Regions from separate parts of the Homo sapiens genome. Here regions 1 and 2 are each linked to region 3. The links are contacts of gene promoters, found by promoter capture Hi-C in blood cells and fetal thymus (Javierre and others, 2016). All regions are on one chromosome and are shown on one strand. The core of a region is centred on a gene start or on the middle of the fragment in contact, and the rest is flanking DNA. Distances in the headings are between cores, read along the strand shown. Region 1 overlaps GSPT1 (G1 to S phase transition 1). Region 2 overlaps GSPT1 (G1 to S phase transition 1). Region 3 holds the start of RMI2 (RecQ mediated genome instability 2).

Region 1 (4,807 bases), core at 1,926-4,425, 530 kb before region 3:
CTATCACCTCTAACACAAAAATCACTTAAGTTGATGTCCTAGTGAGATGGTAACACTAATTCTTGGGATTTATATGGCGCTTGAGAACATTGAATTCTTATTTACCCTAAGGCTAAAGATAAGAATGTGTGTGTTTGTTTGACAGATAGTGATTATAGAGCACAAATCCATCATCTGCCCAGGCTATAATGCGGTGCTGCATATTCATACCTGTATTGAGGAGGTGGAAATAACAGTGAGTTTAAGATAATTGGTTTATTTCTGTTTTAATACTGTTTTATCTTCATAATTTCTAATCAGCAACAGTGATGCACTTTTATTTCTACACCTGTTCTTAAAGATTATTTTATTTGGCATTATTCTGATTTTCTCATACTCTTTTCTTGGTTAGGCCTTAATCTGCTTGGTAGACAAAAAATCAGGAGAAAAAAGTAAGACCCGACCCCGTTTTGTCAAACAAGATCAAGTATGCATTGCTCGCTTAAGGACAGCAGGAACCATCTGCCTTGAGACCTTTAAAGACTTCCCTCAGATGGGTCGTTTCACCTTAAGAGATGAGGGTAAGAGCTTTTAAACTGACGTCTAGTAGTATATCCAGGATACCTAGCTTTGGTCATCTTCATCATCTCAGTACAGTACACATTGCAACAGGTTCACAGAAAACTTCGATTCACATTCTTATTCGTATGAGTGTTTTATGAGTTGAATGTATTGAACAGAATTGACCACGTGCTTTAGTAGTAATGCCAAATCTAGTAATGCTCTACGTGAAGAATCTTAATTTTGATGTTTTGTGAGTAGTGGATTTGGAGGGCTATTTTGTTTACTAAGATATTTCTATGATGTAATCCTTTGTAATATGTCTAGCGATTAAAAGGAACATAGAGATTGATTTTTTTTTTTACACCTAATTTTTCAGAGGTCTAATCTTTGTGACCTTTTGTGTGCATCCATTTCTGCCTACCTCTGGGTGACGCAGAACAACTAACATTCCCATCTTGGGGTCATGAAGTTCTTTGGCATAAAAACAAAATGATTGTTATGAAACGTTTCCTTATGAGCTTTTAATATTCCTGTCCTTTTCCTTTCCCTTTCCCTTTCCCTTTCCTCTTCCCTTTCCTTTCCTTTTTTTGAGATGGAGTCTCGATCTGTCACCCAGGCTGGAGTGCAGTGGCACCATCTTGGCTCACTGCAAGCTCCACCTCCCAGGTTCACGCCATTCTCCTGCCTCAGCCTCCCGAGTAGCTGGGACTATAGGTGCTGCCACCATGCCTGGCTAATTTTTTGTATTTTTGTAGAGACGGGGTTTCACCACGTTAGCCAGGATGGTCTTGATCTCCTGACCTCGTGATCCGCCCGCCTTGGCCTCCCAAAGTGCTGGGATTACAGGCGTGAGCCACCGTGCCCGGCCCAGCTGTTAATATTTCTAACTTAGATAACCATTTTAAGACTATAGAAGACTTTACATAAAACTTTATAGTTCCATTGAAATACAGAATAGTCATTTCACATGTTCATTCCAATTCCATTTAGCAAAAACTACTTTGTATCTACAAAGTGTCAGGAACTGTGCTAAGCCCTGGTGATGAATACAGTTCCTGAACTTTACATTGGATGAAATTGTATAAAGACAGTGTTTATTTTACTTTAAAGGCCCAGAACTCTTCTGGTTGATAGTAAAACTGGTTATTGGGTTTATCTTATTAATATAACAAAATGATAGTTTTAGTTTACCACTCAGAACCTGATAAAATCAGGAAGACAGAAGAAAAGCAATTAATGTAGCAGGAATTCTTAACCCTAGAATTATTTTTTCCTAAAAGCTAACTTGGCTTTAAAAAAAAAAAAAAAAAAAAAAAAAAAAAAGCTAACTTGGCTTTTAGGTTTTCCACAAGACCCAATGGGTTTTGTATCCTTTCAGTCCACAGGATTACTACCAGAAGGACGTGTTCACTGCACTGTAGTCAGTGGTGATTGCTGTGCCTTTTCACAGTTACTTAAGGATAGGTTTTGGGATTTTTTTTTTTAGCAGCTTTATTGAGATACAATTTCCATAATATGAAATTGACCTGTTTTAAGTATGTAATTCAATGAATTTTAGTATGTTTACAGAATTGTACAACCATCACCATATACTAATATTAGAACATTTAGAACACCTAAAAAGAAACCTTACACCTGTTCATAATCACCCCTTATTCCCACCTCCACCCCAGGCAACCATTTTTCAATTTGTCTTTTATAGACACTCCATAAATAGAATTATAAATTATGTGGTCCTTTGTCTAGTTTATTTTACTTAGTGTGATTTTGAGGTTCAACCATGTAACATGTTATTTATTCCTTTGTATCACTGAATAGTACTCCACTGGGTGGATATTCCACAAATACGGATATTCCCTTTTCTTATTTTTAATCCAAAGAGGTTTTTTGGCCCAGTGTGGTGGCTCACCCCTGTAATCCCAGCACTTTGGGAGGCCGAGGCAGGCGGATCACCTGAGGCCAAGAGTTCAAGACCAGCCTGGCCAACATGGTGAAACCCTGCCTCTACTAAAAATATAAAAATTAGAATGGGCATGGTGGCAAGCACCTATACTCCCAGCTACTCAGGAGGCTGAGGCAGGAGAATCACTTGAACCCAGAAGGAGGAGGTTGCAGTCAGCTGAAGTCGCACCACTGCACTCCAGCCTGGGTGACAGAGTAAGACTCTGTCTTTATGCAGTGGCTCATGCCTGTAATCCCAGCACTTTGGGAGGCTGAGGCGGGTGGATCACCTGAGGTCAGGAGTTCAAGACCAGCCTGGCCAACATGGTGAAATCCCGTCTCAACTAAAAATACAAAAATTAGCTGGGCGTGGTGGCAGGCATCTGTATCTCAGCTACTGGGGAGGATGAGGCAGGAGAATTGTTTGGGGGGTACGGGGGGAGATAGGTTTTTGATACAGGGAACCATCTCTTTACCAGCCCCCCCAAATAAGACCCTCTTATTAAGACTACCTAAATAGAAGTATCATGGGTTTGGCAGTAAAGCTAGTTAATTAGTAACTTACATTGTAAAAAATATTTTTGTGATTTAAAATAATAAGTTTTAATATCTTATATAGACTTGCTGTTAACTACTGAAAGATTTTTTTAAAATTTCATTTCTAGGTAAGACCATTGCAATTGGAAAAGTTCTGAAACTGGTTCCAGAGAAAGACTAAGCATTTTCTTGATGACCCTGCACAATACTGTGAGGAAAATTGACTGCAGAAGCCTACTTCACACCGCCTTCTCTTATTTTCTGCCCATTGATAAACCTCTCCCCATATTTTGCAAAGAGGAAATTCACAGCAAAAGTCCACATTATGTCAGCTTTCTCATATTGAGAGCTCTGCTATGCCACTGTTGAATTTTTCCCAAGATTCCTGTCCCTAGCCCTCACTTCAAACTCTGCTTCCTTGGACAGATTTGGCAATAGCTTTGTAAGTGATGTGGACATAATTGCCTACAATAATGAAAACCTACAGGAATTTTTTTATTTTTCATTTTCCCCTTAGGCATATTTAGTATTTTTCCCCCAGGCAGATCATTCTGAGTGTGCGAGTGTGTGTGCACATGTTACAAAGGCAACTACCATGTTAATAAAATATTCAATTTGAAATCCTTTTCGGTATTTGAATTGCTTTTGAATAATGTTTTTTATCTGGATGTAACATTGTTGCATTAGCTTTTTAACTTTCCCAAGTAATTGAATACATTTTATTACTTGGACTTTTATAAACTCTTTCCCTACCCACTATAAATGAGACATTCACAGCGTTCAAGTTTGTATTAAAGGAAAGGATTAGTTTGACCCCTTCTTTTGATGGTTAATGCATACATGCAGTTAAATCCCTTTATGCAAATGTGACACTGCTTTACTAGGTCTTTTAGTTATTTATTTATTTTTTTTTTTTTTGCCAATTTATATTGTAACATGATTTCTTGAACACAGTAAGTTGTTTTAAAATAAAAGAACAGCATACTGTAGTTTTTATAAGTAAAGCGTAATGAAATTGTACCCCTAGAGAAAATTCCATTAACTTGTTAAATTAGTGGAATTAACAACAAATAAAGCATGTTTGAGACCTGGCAAAAATTCCTCTGGTAGTATTTATAAATAGAGCTGCATGCCTCTAGTATGAAAACCGTATCAGTTGCAAGTGCCACTTCTACAAGTTACTCAGTTTACTCTTTGTATCAGTAACTTTAAAGGTTGGATGATCCTTGCTGGTTAAAGCTAAATCTCAACCTAGCAACTAAATGAAAATATTTAGAATCATCAGAATCTGAACAGACTAAAATTATCAGCGATAAGCAGAATCAAGCAGGGTATAAGTTTTATCTCAATTATTTGAAATTGACTGAGTTTTCTTAAGTGTAAAGCTGAAATTTGCTAACCATGTTTTTGATGAACCACAGTGCAGCATTGTGTGGGTTTTAGATTGAATGACTCTCTGCTATAATTATCATGACTTTGAAATTTTTCATGAGAATAAATGAGGAATGGAGGCAATTTGTGGGTTTATCCAAAGCCCCCTTGATGTTGAGTGTTGCCATTGATCAAAGATAGCCTCTTTTAGATTGTGATTTCTCTCTAAATAAGATACTTTGTATATTTAATGACAAGTCTCTTCCCTATAATTTTGCTCCTCAGAAAAGAAAAGCCTAGACAGACTGTATTTCCAGTCACAGAACATAAAACTTAATCTAATGGGTGTTTTGTTTTGTTTTGAGACAGAGGCTCACTCTGTCACCTAGGCTGGAGTGCAGTGGCTCGATCTCAG
Region 2 (4,539 bases), core at 152-2,651, 550 kb before region 3:
TCAGAGCTTAGTTTACTTGTACACTGATTTTCAGCAGGGACTATCTGAGGAAGGGGAAGATGGCACTTGCATAACTTGGAAATGCCTGCAGTTGATTCTGATGTGCCTGTATGTTAGATGGTAGTGATTACAGGATCTGTTTCCTAAGGCTTTTGGTGGGAATGAGCTAGCAGTCGGCACTTAGGGCTCAATAAAAATTAGTTAAAGCAAATTGCTACCCCCTCCATCCCCCACTCCCTACACAATATGGATTTGTGAGTACTTTTATCCTTGTCTGGCCCATAATAGATACTCAATACATATATATATGTATTCATTTTTATTAATTTTTTTTTTTTTGAGACGGAGTTTCATTCTTGTCCAAGCTGGAGTGCAGTGACGTGATCTTGGCTCACTGCAACCTCCACCTCCCGGGTTCAAGCGATTCTCCTGCCTTGGCCTCCCGAGTAGCTGGGATTACAGGTGTATGCCACACCCAGCTAATTGTTTTGTATTTTCAGTAGAGACAGGGTTTTGCCATGTTGGCCGGGTTGGTCTTGAACTCCCGAACTCAAATGATCCCCCCGCTTCCGCCTCCCAAAGTGTTGGGATTACAGGTGTGAGCCACCGTGCCTGGCTGATACTCAATACATATTGATAGGATTGAGTTGGAGTAGTTACATAGCAGATGGAGACACATTTGTTGAATACGCCAGGAGTTCTTTAACTGACACTAAACAAATTATTCTCCCATTTCCTCCCATAAACTCCTCAACAATCCTCTCAGGTAGATGGTATATCATTTCCACAATTTCAGTGGAATAAGTGCAGGCACAGCTTGTAATAAGCCAGGAGTTAAACCTAGGAGTCAGCTCAGTTCCAGGCTCTGAGAAGTACCCCATGCAGTCACCTCCTTCTTAGGGTGGCCTGTGAACTTGATACTCTCAGTACTACCTGGCTTCCTCTGAAAACTGAGTAATTTTTCCTTACCTTATCCTTAAACTTTTCTTGAAAATGGAAAAGCAAAAAAAAGTTAATCTGTATTGTGTTGAAGTACAGTTTCTGCCTCCTTCCAAACCAGGTTCAAATGCGTTTCCCCCCTGTTTGTTAATGTCCTGCTCATCCCACAGCTTGGGGTCATCTTAGACCTTTTACTCTCCCTTTCTCCCAACTCCTGTCAGGTGTAGCCCCCATCCCCTCCTAGTTGTATTGCTTGGTTGTCTCCATGGCATGCTTTCTTGCAGTGGTGATGTGGGTCTTCCTGCCTGTGGGGTCTTGCCCACTCTAGTTCATGTAGTTTAAGCTGCAAGAAAAAGATCTTCCTAAGTGACAGTCTGAGCCTGTCACTTAAAAAAAAAAAGAAAACAATTTGGTTGTCCTTTACCTATCAGGGACAGGAAATTACTTTACTCAACATTTGATGCTATTGAAGGTTGGGCCCAAAACACTTTCTCTTGACTCTTACAGGTATTGATCCTTTCCGGGCAATGATTTTACAGGTTACAAATTCATTATTTTTTCATACTTGCTGTGCATGATTCATATGATTTAATTCTTTAGTATCGTTTTCTGTCGTGGAGATTCTTTAAAGCAGGGGCACGTTCATATTGGAGTATAATTTAGGTTTGTCTGTATCTGACAAACTAAAATCCAAAAAGCAGACTTAGATATTTGGTTATTAGTATGTATTTCTCCTACATCTCTTCCAGTAATGTCATAAGTAAATTTGCAGTGTGGCAACTGGAAACTGGATTGTTGCTTGGTTTTAGAGTTCTAGTATAGGAAAAAACTGGCATCATTGGAATCACCTTTTCTGCAGATATTTTTAATGGCTTATATATGTTTCAGGACTTTATACACATGTCATTTATCTTATAGGTATCTAATTTATTCAGGGATTTTGATAACATGAGTATGGAATATTAAAAAGGGCTAATCACAGGCTGGATGCGGTGGCTCAAGCCTGTAATCCCAGCACTTTGGGAGGCCGAGGTGGGCAGAACACCTGAGGTCGTAGTTCAAAACCAGCCTGACCAACGTGGCGAAACCCCATCTCTACTAAAAATACAAAATTAGCCGGGCATGGTGGCATGCACCTGTGATCCCAGGTACTCAGGAGGCTGAGGCAGGAGAATCGCTTGAACCGGGGAGATGGAGGTTGCGGTAAGCCAAGATCGTGCCATTGCACTCCAACTCCAGCCTGGGCAACAAGAGTGAAACTCAGTCTCAAAAAAAAAAAAAAAAAAAAAGGGCTAATCACAGCTTTCTTGGGCTGGGTTACCTAGAGAGAATCACGGGAAGTAGATGTGTATTTGTTGAGCACATCTCTAATTTGATCTGTGCTGAGCTGCAAATTACTTTGACAGTATCTGTGAAGAAAAGGTTTATAAAGCAAATCAAAAGAATAAGCATGTTTTTATGAATACATTGAAACTACTGAAAATGTTTCAAAATTGGCTGTAATTAGTAGAATTTTGAAAAGTAGGTTAAGCAGAGACTTCTAACTTGAAGGCCTGAGTTAGCTGCCATTGATCTGGGGTTATTGATTGAGGCTTGTGTCGTGTTATTGAACTTCTGTTTTTACTGCATATTAAAAGATAAGTGAAATGGATGGATAAGTATCAATTTTTAATAGAACTTCTTTCTGTTAAACAGCACCTGTGGAATCCTCTCAAGAGGAACAGTCATTGTGTGAAGGTAATGATGTACTCTTTGAAAGTCTACTTGAGAAAACATTAGGTTGTCTATATGGTGTGTAAAGCTAGATACTGTTTGGTAAATATATATTATATTTCAATCTCTTGTCTAGGTTCAAATTCAGCTGTTAGCATGGAACTTTCAGAACCTATTGGTAAGAAAATTTCTGACCATATTAATACAGTAATATGAAACTCTTTCACTCTCAAGATTTAAGGTGCATTATGTAAGTTACGATTATTGTAATGCCTACATTTAAGACACATTGAGTCTTTGCTATTAGTATTTAGAAAGTAGAACAAACTAGGCACTAACACTGCCTTGATAAACTTAATGATTGCAAATAAAATTGAGTGGAGGAATGGTCAAGTCAATTTAAATACCTGTACCTGTTCTGTTTTCTTTTTTTGAGACGGAGTCTTGCTCTGTCGCCCAGGCTGGAGTGTAGTGGTGCAATCTTGGGTCACTGCAACCTCCGCCTCCCAGGTTCAAGCGCTTCTCCTGCCTCAGCTTCTTGAGTAGCTGGGATTACAGGCGCACACCACCACAACTGGCAAATTTTTGTATTTTTAGTAGAGGCGGGGTTTCACCATGTTGATCAGGATGGTCTCGAACTCCTGACCTCGTGATCCACCCACCTCGGCCTCCGAAAGTGCTGGGATTACAGGTGTGAGCCACCATGCTCGGCCACACGTTCTGTTTTCTTGGTGAAAAATGTTCTTCCTTTTTATAACTTTATTCTTAAGGGTTTCACGTTCTCAGCGTGATTAAAGTTGATGCCAAAGTTTTATTAGTTTAAGAGGAAAAAGAAAATATTTCCTAAATCCTTTCATATTTCTCGTGTGTCACGATTTTAAACTTTCCTTTTTTTCTTACTATCAGGGTGTCTCAACACTGGAATAACTAGGCTGTTGGGAATGTTAGAACTCTTGTTTGCATTTTGTTTGCCATTATGAAAATGAAGCTTTGCTAAAATAGCAATCTCAGCCTGTGAGTCAGTGCCCTCTGATGTGATACCAGCAGTGAGTCTGCCTTGAAAGCTGTCACCCATTTCTGCTATGAAAGAGGTTTTCCTGCTTATGTGTCACTAGGCATTAGGAAATGGAACTACATATGCAAACTTCCATTTGTTGTTTTAAAGCTAGTGTATTTTAAAGTATAGATTGTAAGTCTTTTTCAGAATACTAAGTTAAAATGTCTTTCTTCAGTAGAAAATGGAGAGACAGAAATGTCTCCAGAAGAATCATGGGAGCACAAAGAAGAAATAAGTGAAGCAGAGCCAGGGGGTGGTTCCTTGGGAGATGGAAGGCCGCCAGAGGAAAGTGCCCATGAAATGATGGAGGAGGAAGAGGAAATCCCAAAACCTAAGTCTGTGGTTGCACCGCCAGGTGCTCCTAAGAAAGAGCATGTAAATGTAGTATTCATTGGGCACGTAGGTAAGCTGCTCTCATAGCAATTAAAGTTACTGGATACATAAAACATAGAACATCCTTTTTAGCTACCTGGAGATGTTTAGTGAAACTGAAGGAAATTAATTGAAAATGTCTTGATTTTTAACTTGCTGATTTTTTTTAGCTGGCAAAAAATTGCAAGTACTTTTTTCCTGAAGTTTAGGCAAATGAATAATTCTGTAACGGCATAGATGCTGGAAGAAAAACTTCAGTATATTGTACGTAACATATAATTAGTCTATTGACCATTGATGGTAGTTCAGCATAGTATTATATATCAGTATCTTAGAAAATGTGCCCTTTTTTATGTGAACCTCAGTTAACTTGTTAATTTTAATGGGATTGACCTTACCAGATAATTTTGTGTGAAGCAGGAAATCAATAATTTGGAGTAACTTCTGGATGCTTGCCA
Region 3 (4,946 bases), core at 1,531-4,030:
GGTCTCTGTCCCAGATAAAATTCTAGCTGGGGTGGGACAGCGGCCCGAGACATTCTGTAAATTACCAATGTATTCCAATAAAACTTAACTTATGAACACTGATGCTTGAATTTCATATACTTTTCACATATCACGATTTTCTTTTCAACCATTTAAAAATGTGAAATCCTGCCAGGTGCAATGACTCACACCTGCAGTCCCAGCACTTTGGGAGGCCAAGGTGGCCAGGAGCTCCAGACCAACCAGTCTAGCCAACATGTTGAAACCCCATCTCTACTAGAACTACAAAAATTAGCCGGGTGTGGTGGTGCACACCTGTAATCCCAGCTACTCGGGAGGCTGAGGCATGAGAATCGCTTGAACCCAGGAGGTGGAGGTTGCAGCAAGCCATGACTGCGTCACTGTACTCCAGCCTGAGAGACAGAGCGAGATTCTGTCTCAAAAATAATAATAGTAATACATAAAAATTTTAAAAGCATTTTTAGTTCGCAGGACACATGAAAAGAGGAGGCCTGTAGTTTGCTGACCCTGTCCTAGACCAACGCTGCGGCTGAGGGCAGGCAGACAGAGGGAAGGCTGATGGGTAAGGCAGTGGGAAGACGGAACAGGAGCATGTGGCAGTAAACGAGTCCTGATATTTTGCATCCTCACTGTGAGCCAGGTGCAGTACTAAGGCAGTTGTTTACTTATTGAATCCACACAACACGCAGGAATGATTAGCTCCTTTTTACAAAATAGTACAAGTCCAGAAAAGTTAACAAGAGTGCTCCAGGCAGCTCAGTTGGGAAGGGGTGGAACCAGAAATTCGACCTAAGCCTTTCCGAGTCCACAGCAGCTCAGGCCAGACCACAGCCCTATCTGCCTCTAGTTAGACTCCAAGACTGAGCAGGAAGGGCCCTTAGGAATGAAGTGATCTTGGCCTGATTTCCCAGGAGAGGGAGCTGAGGTGAGGGAAGGCCCATGGAGCCTCAGAGCTCCTCAGCTTAGACCTCACATCCTCTAGAAGCCTCCCCGGGCCACTCAGCACCTTGCACATCCTCATGGCTCCCCAAAGATCAGCGATCCTCTGCGACACTTGCTCACTGCCTGTCTCCCAGCAGACTCTATCTAGGTCTCGGCTGCAGCCCAACACTGCACATGAGGGGCTGATGTACAACACGTGCTCAACTGACATCCCAGGGAACAAGTGAGATGGATGCCCATTGCCTATCACTCAAGACTATTGGTTCTTGGAGCACTTATGTGTCAGGAACTGGGCCAGATGCTGAGGATACAGTTGTCAGGACCACACAGCTCTGGCCCTCCAGTAGCTTGGGCTGGCCCAGTGGTTCTCAAAGTATGGCCCCCAAACCAGGCGTGGTGGTACAGGCCTGTAGTCCCAGCTACCCAAGGAGGCTGACGCAGGAGGATTGCTTGAGCTCAGGGCCAGCCTGGGCAACACGGTGAGTCCCCTATCTCAAATAAATAAAACATTTAAAAAGTCGAAAGTATGGTCCCCAGACCAGCAGCATCAGCATCACCTGGGAGCTGGTTAGAAATGCAAATTTCCAGCCCCACCTGGACCTCCTGACTCACAAACCCTGAGGGTGGAGCCCCAGCCATCCCAGCTTTACCAAGCCCTCCAGGAGAGACTGATGCTGGCTCAAGTTTGAGCATCAGTGGTTTAAGAGAGGAAGCAGGCAGGGCGCAGCGGCTCATGTCTGTAATCCCAGCACTTTGGGAGGCCGAGATGAGCAGATCACTTGAGGCCAGGAGTTCGAGACCAGCCTGGCCAACATGGCAAAACCCAGTCTCTGCTAAAAAATACAAAAATTAGCCGGGTGTGGTGGCACATGCCTGTAATCCCAGCTACTCGGGAGGCTGAAGCATGAGAATCGCTTGAATTCGGGAGGTGGAGGCTGCAGTAAGCTGAGGTCGCGCCACTGCACCCCATCCTGGGCGACAGAGTGAGACTCCGTCTCAAAAAAAAAAAAAAAAAAAAAAGAGAGGAGGCAAACATGAGTGAGCTACAGCCCAAGACAGTTCAATTAAGGAGAAGTACAGGAGGGTCTCCCGTTCCTAGGGGCTAGGGAGGACTTCCCTGAGAAAGGCACATTTGAGCTGAGACGTTAAGGATGAGCAGAAGTTTCCCAGGACAGTATTTCCCAAAACAAGGATATCAACTGGGAGAGGGGGCTTGTGACAAACGAAGGTGCCGGAGTCCCTCCCCAGAAGATTCCCACTAGGGGTGGGAGAGTCCCAGGAATCTGTATTTGTAAAAGGGACGGCAGGTGATGCTTATCATCAGATCAACTTCACCAAGGAGGGACCGGAGCAAGGGTACCCAAGCGGGGACCCGCAGGGGCAGAGGCCCGGAGGAGGGCCAGACCCGCCCCGCCCCCGTTCGAGTGTCAACAACAAGATCGAATCTGGCCTCGGCAACTTCTCGGCGGGCAGCAGGGAAGAGGGCGCCCGGTAAGGCCCGGGCATTACCTGGGACTAGACAGGGCCGCCCGCGCGGCACCCGCTCCAGGCCGCGGACCGAGAAGTCCCCGCTCGGGTCCCTCAGCCGAGCCTCGCCGCGGTCCGCCATCACTACCCTGCCCTGCATCCACACGGCCGCCAGGTCCAGCGGCCCGCGGCCCGCCGCCGCCCGTGACAGCCGCCACGCGCCCGGGCCGCCCTCCGCGTCGCGCCGCAGCTGCTCCGCCAGCACCTTGAGTGGCGGCGACCTCGGAAGCCGCACCCCCGCGGGGCCGCCTGAGAACGAGTCCGCAGCCGCCGCCATTCCGCCTCGCCGCACCCTTCCGCCCCGCCTCCGCTTTCCCGCCAACTTTGAGAAGCAGCGGGGCCCGGCCCTCAGCCACCAATCAGGAGCGCGCTGGCAGAGCCGGCCAATGGTCGACGTCAGAAGGCGGGACCGCCGGGCGAAGAGGCCCTCTCTAGCAGCCAGGAGTGCGCATGCGTAGATAAAAGTAAATAAACGCCCTCAAGTTAGGAATGAACGGAGGAAATGGGTTAAACGAGAATAAATAATTGAAGGCAGAGAGGTAAAGAACTTCCTCTTTCAACGCATCTCAAAATTTGGCGTGGATGCAGATCACCTACAGAGTATGATTATTCATCTTTACATTGCCTTGTTTTGAGGTTAGTAAATACTGAAACGAATTAAGAGTCCGTGTTTATTGGGAGTGAGCAAGAATCCAGTCAGGAGATAAGGCTGGGGAGGGAGACGGGGAGAGCTGGCAAACTTGCCTTTTCTTTTATTATTATTTTCAGTTATATTTTAATAGCATCAAATAATTTTAAGGTTAATAAAATATATTGCTATTTTTCAGACAAGAAATGCACATTTATTGTAAAAAAAATAGGGGAAAAATGTAGAACAAGAAAATAATTGTAAAAGCCGCTTATAGATACCCACTGTTAATTTTGGGGTATATTAGCCTTTAGGCTTTAAAATATGTGTGTGTATTTTTTTTGAGACAGGGTCTCACTCTGTTGCCCAGGATGGAGTGCAGTGGCACAGTGACGGCTCACTACAACGTTCACCTCCCGGGCATAGGTGATTCTCCTACCTCAGCCTCCCAAGTATCTCGGACTACAGGCGTGCACCACCACGTCCAGCTAATTTTTGTATTTTTTGTAGAGACAGGGTCTTACCATGTTGCCCAAGGTGGTCTGGAACTCCTGGGATCACGCAATCCTGCCTCCTTGGCCTCCCAAAGTGCTGGGATTACAGGCGTGAGCCACCATGCCTGGCCTATTACTGATATACAAATAGTGTTTTGTATATTGTTTTCACTTAATAATGAACATCTTTCTGTATCAGCAAATATCCATCTGCTTCCTCTTGAATGACTGCATAATACTCGATTTGTCTTATCACATATTAAACCAATATCCTACAGTTGGACATTAAGGCTATTTCCAATTTTTCACTTTATAAATATATCCACTGTGGACCTACTTAAAAGATAAATCTTTTTTATTTATTTATTTATTTATTTTTTTGAGACGGAGTCTCACTCTGTCACCCAGGCTGGAGTGCAGTGGCGCCATCTGGGCTCACTACAAGCTCCGCCTCCCAGGTTCCCGCCATTCTCCTGCCTCAGCCTCCCGAGTAGCTGAGACTACAGGTGCCTGCCACCACGCCCAGCTAATTTTTTGTACTTTGTTTTAGTAGAGACGAGGTTTCACCGTGTTAGCCAGGATGGTCTCGATCTCCTGACCTCGTGATCCACCCGTAAAAGCTAAATCTTTTTGTGCATCCTTCAAATAAAATTCCCAGGAATCTCTCCCTAAAAATTGGATGTCCCCAGTCAGCAAAGTCCACAGATCCTAAATCAGGCAATCCTTAAAGTCAAGGTCAGTTCTTAAGAGAAACTTTGAGTTCCCAGGGCCTCCTGCAGTACCAGGCATTCAGAGAGTATTCAGCAAGAGCTTGATTTTTTTTTTTTTTTTTTTTTGAGACGGAGTCTCGCTGTGTCACCCAGGCAGGAGTGCAGTTGTGCCATCTCAGCTCACTGCAACCTCCGCCTCCCAGGTTCAAGTGATTCTCCTGCCTCAGCCTCCTGAGTAGCTGGGACTACAGGTACACGCCACCCGCCTGGCTAATTTTTGTATTTTTTAGTAGAGACGGGGTTTCGTCATACTGGCCAGGCTAGTCTCAAACTCCTGACCTCGTGATCTGCCCGCTCAGCCTCCCAAAGTGCTGGGATTACAGGCGTCAGCCACCGCACCCGGCCAAGAGCTTCATTTTTATAAAATTGAGCCAGGTCCTATTGTAAGAACTTTGTAGGAAGTATCCCATGTACCCCCACAGACCCTGAAAAGACTGTTCCACACAGGTGAGGAAACTGAGGCTTAAGGAAGCTAGAGGGCTGGCCCATAGACTCTCAGTAGCCTCTATGAGGTTTTGGCCTCTACACCTAATATGGTTTGGCTGTGTCCCCACCCAAATCTCA

Evidence for each region. The method cuts DNA at HindIII sites, captures the fragments that hold promoters and counts their contacts. A CHiCAGO score of 5 or more calls a contact.
Region 1: a fragment that was not itself captured here is called in contact with the fragment with the promoter of RMI2 in region 3 in 1 of 17 cell types (neutrophils); the score reaches 7.0 in neutrophils.
Region 2: a contact is called between a fragment that was not itself captured here and the fragment with the promoter of RMI2 in region 3, in 2 of 17 cell types (neutrophils and activated CD4 T cells). The highest score is 6.1, in neutrophils.

What each region holds. Positions count from the first base shown.
Region 1 is chr16:11,871,514-11,876,320 of GRCh38, reverse strand. It overlaps GSPT1 (G1 to S phase transition 1), which reads left to right. Exons shown (of 15, transcript NM_002094.4): 13 at 146-235; 14 at 392-560; 15 at 3,150-4,807. The coding sequence ends at 3,202. Among named protein-coding and RNA genes, the nearest start is that of RSL1D1, 22 kb to the right of the region's middle. The HindIII fragment of the contact is 9,746 bases long and covers 1-4,807 here.
Region 2 is chr16:11,896,131-11,900,669 of GRCh38, reverse strand. GSPT1 (G1 to S phase transition 1) reads left to right here. Exons shown (of 15, transcript NM_002094.4): 2 at 2,635-2,676; 3 at 2,789-2,830; 4 at 3,885-4,112. Among named protein-coding and RNA genes, the nearest start is that of GSPT1, 18 kb to the left of the region's middle. The HindIII fragment of the contact is 4,482 bases long and covers 1-3,642 here.
Region 3 is chr16:11,343,293-11,348,238 of GRCh38, reverse strand. It overlaps RMI2 (RecQ mediated genome instability 2), which reads right to left and starts at 2,780. Exons shown (of 2, transcript NM_152308.3): 1 at 2,473-2,780. The coding sequence starts at 2,767. All of the region lies in intron 1 of LOC105371082 (a long non-coding RNA gene), which reads right to left. It overlaps LOC105371083 (a long non-coding RNA gene), which reads left to right and starts at 3,027. Exons shown (of 2, transcript NR_135174.1): 1 at 3,027-3,126. RefSeq lists silencers at 2,452-2,531, 2,552-2,711. The HindIII fragment of the contact is 15,776 bases long and covers 1-4,946 here.